Regions from separate parts of the Homo sapiens genome. Here region 1 is linked to region 2. The links are contacts of gene promoters, found by promoter capture Hi-C in blood cells and fetal thymus (Javierre and others, 2016). All regions are on one chromosome and are shown on one strand. Each heading gives the region's core, a stretch centred on a gene start or on the middle of the fragment in contact. The rest is flanking DNA. Distances are from core to core; before and after follow the strand shown. Region 1 overlaps FAM178B (family with sequence similarity 178 member B). Region 2 holds the start of NCAPH (non-SMC condensin I complex subunit H).

Region 1 (5,205 bases), core at 539-3,038, 580 kb before region 2:
GTGTGGGCTTCCTTCCTGTGTTGAGGAGGCGTCTTCCTCGCACCCTCCTCTGCACAGAAGCCGGGAGTCAGGCACTCCTTTGTTCCACCTCTGGGAGCGAGACCCAGGCCTAACCACTTGGATGCTCCTGAGGAAAGGACTCAGGGACGGCAGTCCTCACAGGCTTTTCTGGCCAGGGACCCTGCTGCTCCACACCCCTTGGCCAGGTTCTCCATCTTCCTGTGAATTCTGGAGCACCCCAGGATCCTCTCAGTGTTCTTATGTCTGGAGCAGCCAGCCAAGCAGGTTCTGTGTGGCCACCAAGGAGGAACTGACTGATGGAGCGGAAGTGCAGACAGGCTAGGGAGAGAGCAGCCTCACGCTCGTCAGGTCCTTGCGCACTGGGGATAAGAGCTGGGACAGGCGCAGATGCACCGTGGCTTCCCTCGAAACCCTCGTTTCCCTCCCATTTTGTTCACTTCCTCACTGTGGGGCCAGAGGGCCCCACCTTTCCTTCTCCCCTTACCACTGCCCGGCCCTGGGTCAGCTCCTGGACCCCTTCTCCACTGTGGACTCCCTGCCTGCCTGTTCTCAGACTTGAAACTGCACGGCCAAACAGTGATGCCACATGCATGTCCCTTGTCCCCACCTTGGCTCTTGACCCCTTCAGGCTGCCCGGAGCCACAGCGAGTTCCTGGCCAGCCTCCTGGGGACCTTAGCAGACTCCATGCTTCCTGCTGCTGAAGCCTCTGCACTCCCAGCGAACAGCCACCCCCACTAGACAAACGCAGTGCTCTCAGTTCTCACCTCCCTGCTGCCCACTGCACCCTTAATTCTGGATCCTGGCAGTCCTGCCTCTCCCAAAACCTTCTGCAGTCATCCCTTATTCTTGTACCGTTTGCTTTTTGTTCACTAGCTTTCTCTGCAGCAAATAAATGCGTTCCTGCGTCTCCTACCTTAAAACAGCCGTTCTGTCTCCACCCACATCTCCCTCGAGCTCCTGCCGCAGCTCCAAGCTTCCTCCCCCAGTTCTCTTTCACTCATGGCTGAATCCTGCCCACCCTCGGGCAGGTTGGATTCTTCGGAGCTCAGAGTGTCACAGAGAGCTCTCACTGTGGGCGGGTGAGGCCAGAAGGTCTGGAAGGAGGCAGTCAAGGCCCAGTCAACCTGGAGATTTCAGAAGGGCACCAAACCTGGAGGAAGGAACAAGAGGCAAGATGAAGGTCGCATCCGGAGCCTGGGCTGGAGCTGGGAGGCAGACAGCAGCGTGAAGGTGGGCGGCGGTCAGGCCATGATCGCCAGGAGGGGGACATGGCTGGAGAGGACGCGGCTCCCTCTCAGGTGGGATGTCTGAAGGACCTAAAGGGCCAGGAGCTGAGGAGACACCTCTTGGGGCACCAGGCACTCCAGCCAAGCTGCTCCGTCACCAGGGACCTCTCGGGCTCTTCCTGATGAGCAACCAGCACTTCCTTCCCTGGGCTTCCCAGGGCCCTCCTGGCTTCCTCAGCTGCCCTCAGGGATACCCCTCCCCCACCAGCCCTCGAGTCTTGGTGGGCCTCAGGATTCCACCCTAGCCCTTACTGTGACACAGGCCCATGAAGTCGGGGGTGCTAGGTGCCCCCCACTTGCCCCGATCCAGGACTGGGGCACTCTTTCCACTGCTGGGGGTGGCAGAGGAGTCACCTCTGCCAAAGGTGGTCACCTTACCAGGGCTGGGCCCCTTCCTTGGCAGCAGCCCAGTGCTGAGACACAAAGATCTTCCCCGTTGCCTTAGTTGAGGATGTCTCCGAAGGACCCTGCTGGCTCCGGAGTCCTTGTGGGGTCAGCTGAGGCCTTCACTGGCTGCGTGGCAGCCTGGTTTCCTTTGTCTCTCCCCGCATAAATTCCCTGCATCCTCTCTCCCTACGTAAATTCCCTGCTTGCTAATATCCATTTCAGAGCCTACTTTCTGGGGAAGCCAGCCTGAGACACCATCTCATCTGCACCCGAGGCCTCAGCTCCAGGCACATGCTAGCAGCTCCCAAATGAATACCTGTGGCCAGACTTTGCTGCTGAGCACCTATCTGTGTGGCACATGTCTGGGATTCAGCATGTGGGAAGCAGGAGTCACCGCCTTCCCAGGAGGACCCCTTCCCTGTCTTCCATGGCTCCATGAGTGGCACCAGTGTCTGCCCACTGCCCAGGCCTGGAGTCCTATGGACAGATTCGGTGCCCTGGAGCTCCCCAATCTCCCACAGTGCTCATTCCTCCTCACCCTCCCTGTCGCTGCCTTGGTGCAGCTCTTCCTGCAACCCCCTTGGATTTCCGCCAGAGCATCCCACTGTCTCTTTCCAGGCTTTCTCCACCAGCTCCACCTTGTGCTGTCCCGGAGTGTGACCGTCCTTCAGATGCTCATGTGTTCGCATTGCTGATGTGCATAAAATCTTTCAGACTTTCCCCCTCAGGGTGAAATGCCACGGTGCAGCCTGGGGTTGGAGGGCATTGGTGCCCCCTTTCCCAGGCTCACATGCCACCCTGCTCCCTGCAGGCTTCCACGCTTTTGCCGCGTCCTAGAACTTGGCAGCCACCCCAACTCAAGATGATCATTTGCCTCCAAGCTTTTCCGCATCTGTCTCCTCCTGGAGAGGCCTCTTCCCATTGTCCTCCTCTGCCTGGTTCACATCTCTTCAGCCTCAAGACGAGGCTCCGGCCAAGGCATCTCCTCTTCGAGCAGCCCTTGTTGCAGGCCCATCAGGCTGTCCCCCTCACTGACGCGGGCCGTGAGCATCAGAGGGACAGGTGCTGTGGCCGTACTCCCTGAGTCCACAGAGCCTGGCATGGCAGGGGGACTCACTCAGCACACTCGTGCTTTGTCTGCTTCTGGAGGGTAGATTTCAAAGAAGCATAAAGAGGTAGAACTTAAAAAAAAAGATTCTAGGGCCAGGCACGGTGGCTCACACCTGTAATCCCAGCACTTTGGGAGGCTGAGGCAGGTGGATCACTTGAGGTCAAGAGTTCAAGACCAGCCTGGCCAACATGGTGAAACCCCGGGTCTACTAAAAATACAAAAATTAGCCGGGCATTGTGGTGTGCACCTGTAGTCCCAGCTACTCAGGAGGCTGAGGTTGTTGTAGTGAGCCAAGATCACGCCACTGCACTCCAGCCTGGGCGACAGAGCAAGACTGTCTCAAAAAAAAAAAAAAAAAAATTAAGAAGAGAGATGTCTCAGGTGGGCTGGGAGATCTTGCACTGAAGCTTTGAATATGGATTACAAAGGAGCCCAGTGAGGAAAAGAAGGGAAGCATTAAAGGCTGCAGGGGCTCCCCTCAGAGCTTGTTCGTGGTCTCAGGTTTGGAAAGAAGGGCACCAAAGTAAGGTAGCCGGACAAACGGCGTGGACCAGCGGGAGTGTTGTTGGGAAATGCCGAAGGCCATAAAAGGAGTTTCTGTGTAGTTACTTTTGAAGCAAGGAGTGCGGTTTGGGGCTGACAGTAAAACGTTAGCCCTGATGCAGACGGAACAACACTACACAATTCGTATTTTGCTTTTGCCGTCTTTGTCAAGGAGAACAGTTTTTCATTTGGAATCAAATATTGGTCGTCGAAGGGGGTTAAAGCCTAAGAGAGTGTGGGAGGCTGCATGACCAACCTCACTGTGCAGAGGAGGCCGTCTCCCCGGTGGGACGGCGTCTCACTGCTCCTGGGAGACATGAAGTTGGGGCCGTGGCTCCATGGGGACTTTTGGAGGCGGAGGGCTTCCAGGAGATGGGGGCAATGGTGCTTGATGTGCTCCTCCAGGTTATTCTCTAGGGGATTCCGGCTTGGGAGCACATACGTAGAAAAGGAAACACTGCTTTCTAGGAGTCCTAACAAGAAATCATACCAGGCAAGCCTCACTTTTCCACAGGTCAACCAGAATCATACTCCAGAGAGGACTGTGCAGTGCCTGTATGTAGGTTTCCTGGGCATTTGGTAGAGGCTGTCACCATAGGCTGGGTTCGGCATGAAGGAATGCGGGTCAAATGATGACAGAATGAAGTGGGCTCATTATCAAAAGGTGCTGCTGGCCATCAGAGTGTGCCCAGAGGGCAGGCCCTGTCACCACCCCGAGTTCTGTCTCCACTCACAGGTTGGCCAGGGCAGGCCCAGTGTTTTGGATGAGGCTATTAATGGAACAATGGTCAGATTCACAGATGACATGAATACAACTGACAGCAGACCGAAGATCCCAGAAGATCTCAACAGACTGTAATGATGGACTGAGTTGAAAAGGGAGGCCCAGCTGCACAATTAAGAACAGGATCTGGGAAATGGGATTTGACAGCAAGACGTGTGAAAAAAAAAGACTTTGGGCTCAATCTGTTAACTGCGTTGTGTTGTGGGGCTGCCAAGAAAATGAGCATCAGCCTCAACTCCGAGTGTCGCACTTGAAAGGGAACATTGACAACCCCCAGGGCCGTCAGAGGACCCAAACCAAAATGGCAAAAAAAGATACAAAAAGATGGGAATGAGGGGGCTGTGGCACCTGCAGGAAGGGGCAGCCACGGGAATGTGGCAACTTCTTCCAAGCGTAGAGGACCTAGGTTGGCGGAGAGCTCCCTCCTGGAGGCCCCAGAGGACAGGATCCAGAAGCTTTGAGTGGAAGTCCCAGAAGGGCAGGTTTTGGCAAAATATGGGAACGATTTCCTTTGGTTAGTCCGGTAAATGAATTTGGGCTGTCTTGGCAGATACTGCACTTCCTTTGCTGAAGTGAACACTTATTGGGGGTGTGGCAAAGAGAATTAAAATGGATAACTATGCAGAAGCTAGATTAGGTGACTTCAAGGTGTTTTCTTTTTTCTTTTTTCTTTTTTTTTTTTTTTTTTGAGACAGAGTCTTGATCTGTCGCCCAGGCTGGAGGGCGGTGGCGTGATGTCGGCTCACTGCAACCTCTGCCTCCCAGGTTCAAGTGATTCTCCTGCCTCAGCCTCCCAAGTAGCAGGCATTACAGGTACCTGTCACCACACCCGGCTAATTTTTGTATTTTTAGTAGAGACGGGGTTTCACCATGTTGGCCAGACTGGTCTCGAACTGACCTCAGGTGATCCTCCCACCTCAGCCTCCCAAAGTGCTGGGGTTACAGGCGAGAGCCACTGCGCCCAGCAGACTTCAAGGTGTTTTCTAAGCCTGAGGTTCTGTGATTTTTATCATACAAAGAGGGAGATGAGAATGGAAGTTGGTATGATTGTTCATGTGTACCTTTTAATTTA
Region 2 (5,186 bases), core at 771-3,270:
AGCACCTGTCAATAGCCACGCACTCCAGCCTGGGCAACACAGCAAGACCCTGTCTCTAAAAAATAATAGGCCGGGCGCGGTGGCTCATGCCTGTAATCCCAGCACTTTGGGAGGCTGAGGCGGGCAGATCACAAGGTCAGGAGATCGAGACCACCCTGACTAACACGGTGAAACCCCGTTCCTACTAAAATACAAAAAATTAGCTGGGCGTGGTGGCAGGAGCCTGTAGTCCCAGCTACTCGGGAGGCTGAGGCAGGAGAATAGCGTGAACCCAGGAGGCGGAGCTTGCAGTGGGCCGAGATTGCACCACTGCACTCCAGCCTGGGCGATAGAGCGAGACTCCGTCTCAAAAAAAACAAAAAACAAAAAACAACAAAGTAAAAATAGGAAGGGAGGAGGCAAGAGACATTTTTAGAAACTGAATCAAGAGGACTTATGAGGACAGTATTTGGATGTGAGCACAGTAGGCTACAGGCTAAGGAAGGAACCTGGACCTTTGGAGAGGATACCTTAACAGAAATAGGAAGCACTTAAGGAGAACCTTGTCTAAGAGAGAAACTAAACTTGGAATTAGAGGCATGCTTTAATTCTCCAAATCTTCTTTCCGTGGTTTCTCTCCTTGCCTTTGATATTATGCATCCATTCATTCAACCGATGGTTACTGAGCTCAAAGACACTTCCTATGTCTACTTCCTCATTTCCCACTCATTTTTCAACCCACTCTGGTCTGGTTCCTATTCCAACTTCATGAGAACTATCTTTTCGTGATCATCTATAACTTCCATGTTGCCTAAACCCTATGGTCATTTTCTGGCCTTTCTCTTGGAATCCAGCAGCATTTGAAACAGCTGACAGTCCCTTCCTTGTTGAAACACTCTTGGCTTCTTCCTATACCACTGTCTTTTGAGTTTTTCCAGCTCATCCTTCTCTATCCAGCTTCTAAACGTTGGTCCTAGATGTGCAGGGCCTTCCTAGTGTTCTCACCTGTTCCCATGGTTTTATGGTCTAATGGTCTATATGATAATGGTATCCAAATTTATTTCTCAATCCATGGGTCACTTCCCTGAGTGGTCCATATAACTCCCCTGAGAGCCAAATTCTCACCTAAGTGATTATAGATCCCTTCACCTGAGTCTCTCCCGTAAGTCACACATACCATGTCCAAAATGTAACTCAATTTCCAAATCTCTTACCCAAGGCCTCCAGACCCTGCCTACGTGTCAGGCCTCACTAAGCTTGGTCACAATGTTCTGGTCAGGTCCTAGGCCAGGCCAGGCTCTTCCCTGCCTCATTTTTGTACTTGCTCCTTCTGCCTGAAACACGTTCCCTAGTATCTGCCTAAAGATCTTCCCTGAACCCCTGGCGGAGCCACCCCTACTCTGCTATACTCAATCACAGCACTCAGCCTCATGTGTAATTATTTCTTTTGTTTACTGTCTGTCTCCCCAACTCCAACAGTATAGAGATATTATCAATTTTGTTCGCCCAACGGGAGAGCTCAGTACTTTTGAATAGATGCAAAAATAAATGCATGCATGCTAAGCATACAACGGTAACCACATCGCTTCCAAAGCCCTGAAAATAACGTCTATTCCAGGAAAACCACCATTTTAATGGAGAGACACCGAGCACGCTTTAGGAGCCCAAGGAGGAGGCCGCCCCACCGCCCGCCCGGGAACTGAGGAGTGTGAGGCAGGGCCCGCGCGCTCTCCGACTCCGGCCGAAGCCGCTTTCTGATTGGCTGAGCGCACAAGGTCCGCCCGCCCCGCGCCGGCCCTCCCCTCCCCCCGCACCGGCCTCTGCTGTCAGCCGCAGGGCCAAGACCCGAGCTGAGCATATCCTCTCTCCCCGCCCAGGCCAGCCCGCCAGCCCTGCCCGCCCGAAGTACTGCTTCGCTAGGGGCCCTTCCCGCCGCGCCTCCCGACCGCCCGGCTCACCTGGGCCGGGAGGTCCCATCTTTCCTTGGCGTCTCCTGAGCTGGTTTTAAATCGCGCGCGTCGAGACGCCTGAGCGCCGTAACGGCCGCGTGACGTCGCCGGCGGGCCGGGCCAGCAGCGCGCCTGCGCAGACCACCTCGGGCCTCCGCGGGCGGCGTCAGAGTGAGTTTTGGGTTGAGGACCCCGTCTGATTGGGCTTCTTGGGGTCGGTGGACCCCCTGAAATAGTATGAAAACCCCCTCCTTCGAGGACTAGGTGCAGGACTGGGCTTGGGAACCCAGCGTCGAGCAGGGTGAGCAAGGCCCGTCTTTCGTGGAATTTACTTTCTTTTTTTTTTTTTTTTGGGACGAAGTCTAGCTCTTGTCCCCCAGACTGGAGTGCAGTGGCGCGATCTTGGCTCACTGCAACCTCCGCCTCCTGGGTTAAAGCGATTCTCCTGCCTCAGCCTCCCGAGTAGCTGGGATTACAGGCGCCTGCCACCACGCCTGGCCAATTTTTGTGTTTTTAGTAGAGACGGGGTTTCACCATGTTGGCCAGGCTGGTCTCGAACTCCTGACCTCAGGTGATCCGCCCACCTCGGCCTCCCGAAGTGCTGGGATTACAGGCGTGAGCCACCGCGCTCAGCCCGTGGAATTTACTTTATAATGGGGAGGCAGATGATCGAGAAAACGAGGTTTATTTCCCTTAGAGATCTGTGCTGTGTGGGCAGCAAAACGCTGAAAACCTCCGGGAAGAGGGACGGAGGGGAGCGGGAGCCTACGTGGGAATGAGGAGCGGTCCAGGTGGGGAAGAACTGATGCAGAAATGCTATGTATACATTAAATATAGTACAAAATGTACATTTAATATAGTGTAAGATGAAGGCCATCGTTTTATTCAGATTCTTGTGAATAGCTTCCTGTGAACACCCCCCACCCTTCAAAAAATAAATAAAGGTCGAAAAAGCGAAATAAGCATAAAATGCCATCTGTCCCCTCAGTTTCATCTAACCCTAAGGATTGAATTATGGGAGTAAAGGCCAGGGTGATTCCCTGGAATATCCCCAGCACATCCTAGAATTTCTTGTAACTCTCATATCTGGCATCTTTTACAGTGTTTCTCTTCAAGGGCACTGTTGGCATTCAGGGTGAAACAATCCTTGGCATGATAGGATGTTTGCCCTCTTTGTGGGCTCTTAAGCCCCCGTAACATCATTTGCCCACTAAATGCCATCAGTGCTGTCGCTCATTTTGGCAATCAAAAAGTGCCACCCTTTGTTGAAAACCACTTTTTTTTTTTTTTTTTTTGAGACAGAGTCTTGCTTTGTTGCCCAGGCTGGAGTGCAATGGCACGATCTCAGCTCACTGCAACCTCCACCTCCCAAGTTCAAGCGATTCTCCTGCCTCAGCCTCCTGAATAGCTGGGATTACAGGCGCCCACCACCACACCCAGCTAATTTTTGTATTTTTAGTAGAGATGGGGTTTCACCATGTTGGTCAGGCTGGTCTCGAACTCCTGACCTCAGGTGATCCACCCGCCTTGGCCTCTCAAAGTGTTAGGATTATAGGCATGAGCCACTGCGCCTGGCTGAAAACCACTTTTTAAGCCTATCTGTTGTTCGTATAAACTTGTTCTTCTAGTGACCACCTTCAAATCTTCAGCGTAAGGCTGTGTGGGTTAGAGAAAACAGGTTGACACTGTTTATCTCAGCAAATGATACCATCAGCCACCCAAGAACCCAAATCAGCACCCAGGAGTCATCCTGGGGGATTCCCTCCCTTTCTCTCCCCACACAATCCATCATCAAGCAAGCTATTTTCACCTCCTAAAAATTGCCAATCCTGCCTTTCTCCTTCCATCCACATTACCTTCTCACTGGCCTGCTCTGGCCCCCCCTCAGGCCCTGAGTAGTGTATGCGGAGTCCAAATCTGAGCTGTCACTCCCACTTGTCCCCCACCACTTCCTCCCGGAAGTATAACACTTCAGGGGTTCCACCACCCTGGGAACCTCTAAGCGTCCTACAAGGTCCTGGAAGGGTCTTCCTGCCAGCCTCCCCACCCCTGCAGCCTCTCCAGCCTCCTCAGGGACCTTGCTCCCCTTGCTCCCTGCCCTCCAGCTGCCCTGGCCTTTTTTCAGATTCCTCTCATCACACCTGCTCCTACCCCCAGGCCTCTGCACACACACACTCCTCTAGCTAGGATCCTCTTCATCCCCATCTTCACCCCCGTAGCTCCAGTTAGGTTTCTACTCCCCTCAGGTTCCTCAAGGAGACCTTCCCTGATACACACAACTCTCCATACTGGAGGCTTCAGGAGAACTTGTCACAGCTGCAATTTTCCATGCACTAGGGTGACTATTTCATGTCTGTCTCCTACATAGACCGTCAGCTCCATGAGGATGAAGCCATATCTGTTCACTATGGTTTTCCCATGGCCTGGTGCTGGCCCTGGACATAGCAAGTACTTAAATATGTATTCAATGAGTACATCTGGAAGACAATTTTAAATCCTGGGTTGGGCATGTTAACCTCTCTGGGCCCCATTTTCTTCCCCGTCTATAAAATGGGGAAGGCACTATCCCCGCACTGGACTTGGTCAGTATATGCTGGGGTCCCTGTCATCTCCCTCACTTGTTCTCTCTGCTGAATGCATCTGAGGGAGGACACTGGGACAAGTGTGATCCTCTGGATTCCATGTGTACATAAGAGTAGCAAGGGTTAGGTGATACACTGAATCAGGAGCCTCTGAAGAACAGCTTGGAAGCCCTGGGGGAGGAAAGCTACTAAGTGACCCACTAGGTGAGCCTTGAGGCTGTTCTGTGGGAATAATGGAGCCACCTGAGCTGCTTCCAGCTTCACGTGCAGGAAGGCAAAGCCAGCTCCATGCCCAGTGTCTCTCTGGGCCAGGGCTGCCTTATGCGGGCAGGTCTTTCACCTCCTGCTCTGAATGCCATCTTTGTTTTGTTTTTAGGACTATGAAGGGTGCCAAAAGAGTGAATGATTTGGCCGGGCGCGGTGGCTCAAGCCTGTAATCCCAGCACTTCGGGAGGCCGAGGTGGGCAGATCACAAGGTCAGGAGATCGAGACCATCCTGGCTAACACAGTGAAACCCTGTCTCTACTAAAAATACAAAAAAAAAAAAAAAATTTGCCTGGCATGGTGGCGGGTGCTTGTAGTCCCAGCTACTCGGGAGGCTGAGGCAGGAGAATGGCATGAACCTGGGAGGCGGAGCTTGCAGTGAGCCGAGATTGTGCTACTGCACTCCAGCCTG

Evidence for each region. The method cuts DNA at HindIII sites, captures the fragments that hold promoters and counts their contacts. A CHiCAGO score of 5 or more calls a contact.
Region 1: a fragment that was not itself captured here is called in contact with the fragment with the promoter of NCAPH in region 2 in 2 of 17 cell types (total CD8 T cells and activated CD4 T cells); the score reaches 7.0 in total CD8 T cells.

The regions. Positions count from the first base shown.
Region 1 is chr2:96,908,759-96,913,963 of GRCh38, reverse strand. All of the region lies in intron 12 of FAM178B (family with sequence similarity 178 member B), which reads left to right. Among named protein-coding and RNA genes, the nearest start is that of SEMA4C, 41 kb to the right of the region's middle. RefSeq lists an enhancer at 41-728. The HindIII fragment of the contact is 1,581 bases long and covers 998-2,578 here.
Region 2 is chr2:96,332,600-96,337,785 of GRCh38, reverse strand. NCAPH (non-SMC condensin I complex subunit H) reads right to left here and starts at 2,020. Exons shown (of 18, transcript NM_015341.5): 1 at 1,938-2,020. The coding sequence starts at 1,956. RefSeq lists enhancers at 864-1,705, 1,706-2,547 and a silencer at 1,626-1,945. The HindIII fragment of the contact is 5,174 bases long and covers 1,238-5,186 here.